Regions from separate parts of the Homo sapiens genome. Here all the other regions are linked to region 3. Evidence: promoter capture Hi-C in 16 types of primary human blood cells and fetal thymus (Javierre and others, 2016). All regions are on one chromosome and are shown on one strand. The core of a region is centred on a gene start or on the middle of the fragment in contact, and the rest is flanking DNA. Distances in the headings are between cores, read along the strand shown.

Region 1 (2,700 bases), core at 33-2,532, 340 kb after region 3:
GGTACCTGCCTTCAATTTTGTTTACCAAGATTAATACTGAATCCTCCTAAAGTTCTGACCTCCGCTGTCAGTCCTTCAAGGATGCTCTCTGTGACCCCCAGACTTAGTCAGGTGCCCTGGCAGATGCTCTTAAGATACTAGGAATTTCTTAGATGGGAATACTTACTTAGGTGTATGTGTGTGAGCATTTAATTAATGCTTTTATTAGACTGTAAACCCTGTGAGGGCAGGAATTGTGTCTCCTTGGCAAATCACTATACACAGTGCCTGTTACTGATGGCTGATCTACTTAGAACAAATATTTGCTGAATGGATAGACGAGTGAAAGCAGTCACTGAACTGGCAGCCAGATGGCCACTACTGCTTTTTTGACATGCACTTTGTGCCACAGGATGGAAGTGCAGAATGAGGATTAACTTGTGACAATTGGTTCCCTCTCTCTCTTCTCCTCTCCTTCCCTTTTCCTCTTTTTAAGCCAGTAATTAGCACATAACCTTGGGCAACTGAGGCAATAAGTCAGTAACTCTACATACTATTTTTAGATTTGCTAAGGGCATACAACATGTACTATTCAAAAACGAAAAGAAAGGGAATTATCTAGTAGGGCACAGATGTTATATTCACAATGGTACATCCTGAAGTTCAACACAGGGAAAAGCCCACATTTCTTCAAATCAATGTGCGTCCCATTTACTGTGCCTGCTCCCCCAGTCCATGACGTCACTTCTTCCAGTTATTCTTGTGATTACATGTCCTTCCGGGAACAACTGGCTGGAGATTCTGGTGACTTTTAGGAAGTTTGAGGCTCCAATCCTATCATCATTTTCCAGGAGCAACTGCTTTAGCTAAACCTCCCGGTATTCTCAGGGAAGGATCTGACTTAAGTTGCGTGAAAGTATATTGCAAATGTGTTTTGGCTTAGACGTATTTTAAATAAGGGCCCATACATATTAAAAAGTAAAGAGAGAAATTACAGCCTAGGGGTTTGTGGTGTCCATGTAGCATTAACATAATGAGTGCTGTGGCTTACTTGCATCCTGCAAAAAGCCACCTTGAAGTCCTAACCCCTAGTACCTGTGAACATGACCTCACTTGGAAATAGGGTCTTTGCAAATGAAATCAAGTTAACATGAGGTCATAATTGGATTAGGGTGGCTCTAAATCCAATATGACTGGTGTCCTTATAAGGAGAGACACATACACACAGAGGAATGCCTGGTGAAGGAGGAAACAGAGATTGGAGCGGGGCATCTCCAAACTAGGGAACACCAAGGATTGCTGGCAACACCAGAAGCTGGAAAGAGGCATGAATCAGATTCTTCCCTACAGCCTTTAGAGGGAGTGAGGCACTGCCCACCCCTGATTTTGGAGTTCTGGTCTCCAAAACTGTGGGAGGACAAGTTCCTATTATTTTAAACTGTCCAATTTGTAATGCTGTCTTATGGCAGACCTAGAAAATGAACGAAACTACTTACGCATCCTTTAAAGCTAGCTATTAAAGTTTCCTATTTGATAAAGACTTGAAAATGTAACAAGATGCATAATAGCATCTACAAGTATTCACCTTTCAATATGAAGAATGGCAAAGGGTGACCAGGCTGCCAATAAGATAAATTATGGAGCTGGAATCAGAGGCACAACGTTAGTTTTTGAATTACCAGTCGTGTGGGGGAAGCTGTTTAAGTAAAAGAACACTGAGAATGGGATCAGAACACTTGGGCTGGAGTTTCCGTTTAGCCGCTTTCTATATATTTCCCCTAAGCACTGGTACACCCTGTTCCTTCTGCCAGTCACAAACTCTCCACCTCCCCTCCTCTCTCTTCAACCTGCTCACCTCTGTCCCTCTCCTAGGCCTTGGCTAAGACTCCACTCCTGGGAGGTCTGCCCTGGTTCCTAGGCTGGGTTACAGGACCTCCTGGAGCAGCCCTGCCATGCTCACGGGAATGTGCCCCCCCTTCTCTGGATCTACCTGGAGATGGGGGCACTCCAGGAAGCCTGGCCCCAGCTCATCATAGTCCATGTTGTACCCACAGAGTTCTTGGCACATAAGAATTCATTTTTAGCTCTAAATAAGTAAAGGTATGAATTAAACAGTAGCATTAACTTTGCCATAGTTTTGCAAACTCAAAGTGTGGTTTACATGTGTCAACATTTCAACTTAACCACAGATTATTTTGCCTCCCAATGGATATTTGGCCAAGTCTGGAGAAACTTGTCAGAAGGTGAACTAAAGGATGCAAAGACAATCTGTGCGTGCCCCTCAAAGCTGCCAAAGCGGGCCTGGAGTCTGCAAGTGCTCGTTAGAACAAAACGTTTGCTTCTAGGGCCAGTCCTCTGTGCAATTAGAGTTGTAGTGGTGAGGTTGTAAATCAGAGTTGATAGCTCCTATTGTTAGGGAATTTAGCTGTAGGAATTGGGAAATTTGCCATGGTCCCTGAGCACTGAACCCATGACCCAGGGGTGGCTTGGTTTCCTTAAACTTAGTGCCCATCTCAGTTGATCAGAGGGCATCTATTTCAGTCTCTCAGATCACGTGGAATCTCTTGATCGGTTCCACATGGACCAGCTTCTGACACCCTGGCTGCAGAACAGAAGCGGCGGCTGGGAGAGGTAAGTCTAGACCCAGGTAGCAGGGACCCCCCTGGACCCACACGCCCACACGGCCATTGCCCTGAGAGCCAAACCTTCCAAGAGGCCCTG
Region 2 (2,700 bases), core at 125-2,624, 310 kb after region 3:
ACAAGGACTTGACTGAGTCACACATCATGATCCATGCGTTTTCTTTGTTAAGATCTAGAAATAAGAGACAGACCCAACCTCATGCTGTGTCTCGGGTTCTCTGGAATGAAGGCAGTCAGCTATAGTCACCACTTTGATTCCCGCAGCCCGTCTGTTCAGTCCCTGAAGTGATGAGAAACCAAGAAGAATTCAAGAAGTCAAAGGTGTTCTAAAAATAAATGCTCTTTTGAAAGTTGTTTTGTTTGTCTGTGTTTCTTTCCTTCGCTATGTTCAAAGTCAACCAATCAACAGAGTTGCTTTAACAAGTTACAGGCAAGAGGGCTTCTCGTAGCACCTTTGCAAGCATAGTGTAGAACGCAGCAGTCTCTCCAGGGCTTGACCCTGTGACAGAGAGCCCAGGGCCCCAGGTGCCTGCAGGAGCTGACGGCCATGTGGCCTGAAGTCTTAAGGCTCGTGGAGGGCCTGCAGAGCCCCCTGGGCTTCCTGCCTCCTCCCAGCCTTGCCCGGCTCCCAGCTTTTCTCACACAGAGTCCTCTCAAAGCCATCTTCTCTGCTCCTCTTGTGTTTTACCCACAGTTCAGAACAAGAGGCTTCCTTGGTTTTTCACCCTCAGAAAGATTGTCCACATGATATTATGGATGTAAAACTATTTGGAAGCTAATATGATATCTGACCTTAGTTCTAGAGAACTAGTTGCAATTATCCTGGGCTGAGAGCATTAAAATTGGGACCTGTGCGAGCTTCTTAAGTAGTCGCTAGGGCATTTCTACCATAACCATTCCAAAACAAAGTCATTCAAAGTAAAATCCCCCCACTCCTCCTGTTATAAATTTGGCCTCACAGTTTAATGAGTAAAAGCTGCAAGCCCACAGGCCCTTGGCAGGATGTGTGGCCAAGATGTCTTGGTGCAAAGAATGTTACCGTGCACTTCGAGTGCAGAGACTGCTCTCCACAGCAGGCCCCAGGCTTGCATTCTGGCTAATGTCCATCTGAAAATTCAGATTGTGAAACTACAGCATACGAATCATTCCACAGGTATGAGGCCTGTTTTTCTTATTTGTCAATCTCATTCAAGCCTTTCTTTTCTTTGGCAACAGGAGGAAATACACTGGCCAATACCTAAGTACTAATCTTTGATTCATTTTTTAAAAATCTTGCTAATTTCATACAGAAGACAGAATAACTGAAAGAAGAAACAATTCTTTTCTCTAAAAGGCTAGATAATTTCTACCAGTGCCTTCTCCTTTCTCCCAACAGTCCCCACTCAGCCATTCCTTGTGGGCTGATGCCAGAAACAGCGTGGAAAACAAGTCTGTTTTCCAAGAGGGGCTATTACCACGAATTATGTTTAAAATGACAGCATCAAAGATTAAACCATCATTGTATATAAACTTAACATAGCTATAACCTAGGAAAAGCTAGTTTCATGGTGATAATACTAATTAGAAACAGATGTGTATTCAAAGGGGCAAGGAAAGAGGCTGGCAGGAGAGAAAAAACATTTTTCCCCCATAATGTAGTGCAAGAACCTTTACAGATATGGTCTCACCAAAGTCAGCTTTGTGCAACACCACGGATGCCAAGTGCAAGCTGTCCTGACAAGGCACATTTCACTGATGAAGCATTTAATAAATTGCAGATAACCCTTATTACAGGGTTACCCCTATTTTGTAGCTGGGGAGACAGGTGCTCAGAAGGATTCAGTGGTTTGGCAAGGGAGACAGCAAGAACACTAGGGCAGTGTGAGGTGGCTGGGAGAAGGGGCAGCCGGCAAGGTCAGGCACTTCCCACGGCAGGAGACTGGCACCGAGCAGGGGCAGGAGGGAAACAGGGACACCACCTGCTCCATGCCTGCAGAATCCTACCTCCACGGGGCAAGGCAAGGGCAAACCACCCAGCCTGGGGAGCTTTGCACACCAAGGCTCATAGAGGAAGACTGGCTAGGGAGCATTCGCCGAATGGAATCAGGTAGGGCTCTCATATCAGTAGCATTCTTGGGAACACCCTCTGACTGATCTCCAGGAACGCATGCAAATGACTGCATAACATATGCAAATGACTGCATAACAACAGGTACACATCTTGGCTGGTCGGAAACACTGCTTCTGGCCTGCTTGGTAATAAATCCTAGGTGTATGGTTACGCACATTTGTCCTCCACGCCCTGATATGCAGGTGCCTCCGGCTTCCTTGTAGCTGCACCATTATTTTCCCCTAGCTAAGCAGTTAGCAGGCAAGGCTTCTCACGCAGCTGCAAGTCAGATGTGATTAACAGTATTTCATATGGAATATATTTGTGTCTGATCCATTTGCTTGATTAAATCACACTGTAGCTTAACAGCCTATTTGTTGATAATTTTTACTTATTTGAATTCAATGTAATAGCTTTTACTAGTGAAAATATATCAGCAAACATAAAACGCTGAGAAAATGCAACACAACCTAATTCAGTGTAATCAGAAATAAAAGCAGAGCATTCTAGAGAATGCTGCTAGTCTTAGACCAGCTCTGCTTATTTAATAAGCACAGATCCTTGGAGCAAAAAAGGTAGAGTATTTCTGGCTAAGTTACTGGTTACCAACTCCACGTCATACAAAGTAAACTCATCCTGGTCCCCCATATCAAAGGAGCACTCTCCTGGCAGCTCCCTGAAGGTCCCCAAGGCCGCACACATCTCTGGTTGACCCGAACGTTGCCTTCA
Region 3 (2,700 bases), core at 166-2,665:
GAGGCCAGAGTGGGGGCAGAGGCAGGCATCTGGGGTAGATACCACCGGTGTGAACGAGAAAGGCCCGGGCTGCCGGCTGGCGAGGGCAGGAGGGGGGCCGTGGCCGTCGGGCGAGTCTGGCTGCGCCCCACGTGGGCCAGCTTGCGCACTGGTGTCCCGAAAGTGGGCGCTGGCGGCCAGAGGAGCCTGCGGTCTCCCCCGAGGGCCCCTAGGCGGAGTGGCGCGTGCAGGAAGTGAGGTGGGATCAGGCCTGGCCTGTCCCCGCAGGCCCGCTGGGCTCACAGCGTGCTCAGGTGCCGCCGTGAGTCCAGGGCCCCCGCCCGGCCCCGCGCGGCAGCCGCGGACTCCACGCCGCGCAGCCACTCCGTGCACTTGCGTACCAGGCCCTCGTCCACCGCCTCTGGCTCCTCCTCGTACTCCACGTCGTCGTACCTGTGCCGCTCGTTGAGCAGCGACACCTTGAGCATCGGCCGCAGGGCCCCGGGCCGCGGGCTGAGCTGGGGAACCTGCAGGCCGCCGTGCAGCAGCTGGGCGCCGGGCGGAGGCGCGCGGCGGCCCTGGCCGGCGGTGGGGGGTGCGTCGGGGTCGCTGGCGGGGCCGCCCCTCCGCGGGCCCGCGGCCCTAGCCGGGAGACACGGGGCGAGTAGGCGCCTGGGTTCGGCCGAGGGTGAGGGGAAGGGCCTGCGGGGCCGCGCCAGCAGCTGCTTCTCCAGATGACGCTTCTGGATGACCAGGACGGCCTCGGGGGTGAGATTCAGGCAGAAGCGCGCAGCGGAGTCTGGACAAGGCCCCGCCCCCGAGGAGGTGCCCGCGGCGGTGGTCCCCGTCCCCGCCGAGGTCGCCGCATAGGTGGTCCTCGCTGGGCTGTGGCCGGAGCCTGCCGGCCGGGGCGGGGCGCACGTGGCTGGGGCCCGCGCGCGGCTGGGCAAGGCCTGGGGGGAGACGCCCGGAGGGGCCGGCGGCTGCGTCCTGTCCAGGCCGGGGCCGCGCCGGGCCGGCGGCCTCTTGAGCGTGGCGGAGGGCCAGGAGCTGGAGAGGAGCCCCTCGGGCCGCTGTGGGGGCCTCTTCTTCTTGTCCCCCGCGGCGCAGGGCCTCCGGGGTAACTGGCGCGCGGCTTGGGCCCCCGGGGCGGGGGCGGGCGGCGGCGGCATGGGCGGGAAGGGCATAGTGCAGCCGAGCCGCCGGATCCTCAGCCCCTGGAAAGAGAGGCGGGCGCTCAGCCACTGTGCGCGGAGCGGGTCCCCGCAGTCCGGGCGGCCCCTCCACACCCACCTGCGTCCAGCCGCGGCCTCTCCGGCTTCCTCACATCCCAGCGACCAAACCCGGGGACTCAAAGAGAGGCGCTCCCACCCTCCCCTCCTCCTGGGGGTGCTCCCGGGACTGGACCCTGCAGGAACCGCCTCCCGCCGTCCGACTGTGGGCGAGTCGCGGCGCCCCCGGGTCCCCACAGCTGAGACGCGGGCCGGGCCGGCAGGAGGAGGAGCCCAGCGCGCTCGCTAAGGACGCGGCCCTGCCAGGCCCCGGGCTGTGCCCGGCTGGTGTCACGACCGACTGTTGAATGGGAGCAAAGTGCCAGGACAGCGGAGGGCGGAGCGCGCGCCAGGCATCCCGGGGCTCCCCCAGCTGGCGCTCCGGTGGTCCGAGGTTAATGTAGTCCGTCGAAAGCCAGGAGCATTCCCCTGGGGGAGCCGGCAGCCTTCCGGAGTCACAGGTGGAGGCCCTGCACGTTTCAGAGAAAATCCCCTGTAGCCTCTCCGTGCCTTCGAGACGGCGGGAAAGGCACCGCCAGTAGATGCAGCTCTGCGGCCCCGGACACATCCTGCTTCACAGAGAAAAGCGGGCTGGAGCTGAGAGGGGAGAAATGACCCTCAGTGAATCTTACATAGTGTTCATGCCACCCCTTGAGGAGTCACTTTCAAATTCAAAACCTAAGTATCTATGAACAGGCAAAATAGTTCAGTTTCAGCTATATAATGCTGATTACATGGCAAATATTAGACATCAAGTCCCTTTAATAATTCTTATGAGCAAAGCAATATATTTATCACTGTAGCAGAGATTCAGAATTAATGAGATAAATCTTCACTGTCAATTTACATTCTAGTCGTAGACACATGAAGACATCCTACAATATTCAAATGTTTGTTTAATAAATAATTGAACAATTGCAAAGTGACGGATCAAAAAGTCAACATTTCATGTGTGCAGTCCCTGCATTACTTAAGGATAATCATCAGCTGCTTAGATCTCCACAAAGTACTTTCCATCAGATACACTTTTCTGATGGAAACCAGGTGTGTGATGGTTACGGCCCCAGGTTAGCTCCAGAGCACATTCAACTGTGGGTAAACACAAATGTGCCCTGTGCCAACAGTCACAGCAGGACAGCATGGCCCTCCCCCAGCCGCCTCAGTCTCCGAGGCAGCAGCAACGCCTCCCCTTGTTGACTGTTGGTGGCCTCAGAGAACTGCGCTGTGGATACATGGGAGCGTCAAGGAAACCTGGCAGGTGGTGGGAAACACTTCTCACCAGAGCTTGGGTTGGGGTGACAGGTTTGGGCCCTGTCATCTCTACCAGCACCTCCCAAGCCACCCCAATACAGCTCTGAAACAAGCCTCCCAGCTCACAGGCACTTTCCCTCCATCCCTGCCAGCCTGTCTCTGCCGGTGGGCTCAGGCTGTTAATCGGCTTGACAGGTGA

The links. The method cuts DNA at HindIII sites, captures the fragments that hold promoters and counts their contacts. A CHiCAGO score of 5 or more calls a contact.
Region 1: a contact is called between a fragment that was not itself captured here and the fragment with the promoter of PRR18 in region 3, in 1 of 17 cell types (non-activated CD4 T cells). The highest score is 5.3, in non-activated CD4 T cells.
Region 2: a fragment that was not itself captured here is called in contact with the fragment with the promoter of PRR18 in region 3 in 1 of 17 cell types (total CD8 T cells); the score reaches 5.1 in total CD8 T cells.

The regions. Positions count from the first base shown.
Region 1 is chr6:166,643,682-166,646,381 of GRCh38, forward strand. It overlaps LOC107986671 (a long non-coding RNA gene), which reads left to right. Exons shown (of 3, transcript XR_001744466.2): 2 at 2,521-2,610. It also overlaps a transcript of RPS6KA2 not described here. Among named protein-coding and RNA genes, the nearest start is that of RPS6KA2, 18 kb to the left of the region's middle. The HindIII fragment of the contact is 2,883 bases long and covers 1-2,700 here.
Region 2 is chr6:166,619,140-166,621,839 of GRCh38, forward strand. All of the region lies in intron 1 of RPS6KA2 (ribosomal protein S6 kinase A2), which reads right to left. Among named protein-coding and RNA genes, the nearest start is that of RPS6KA2, 6.8 kb to the right of the region's middle. RefSeq lists enhancers at 1-147, 1,808-2,308. The HindIII fragment of the contact is 3,633 bases long and covers 1-2,700 here.
Region 3 is chr6:166,306,977-166,309,676 of GRCh38, forward strand. PRR18 (proline rich 18) reads right to left here and starts at 1,416. Exons shown (of 1, transcript NM_175922.4): 1 at 1-1,416. The coding sequence starts at 1,166. The coding sequence ends at 279. LOC107986669 (a long non-coding RNA gene) reads left to right here and starts at 572. Exons shown (of 3, transcript XR_001744464.2): 1 at 572-747. RefSeq lists a silencer at 899-1,498 and an enhancer at 1,569-1,848. The HindIII fragment of the contact is 8,012 bases long and covers 1-2,700 here.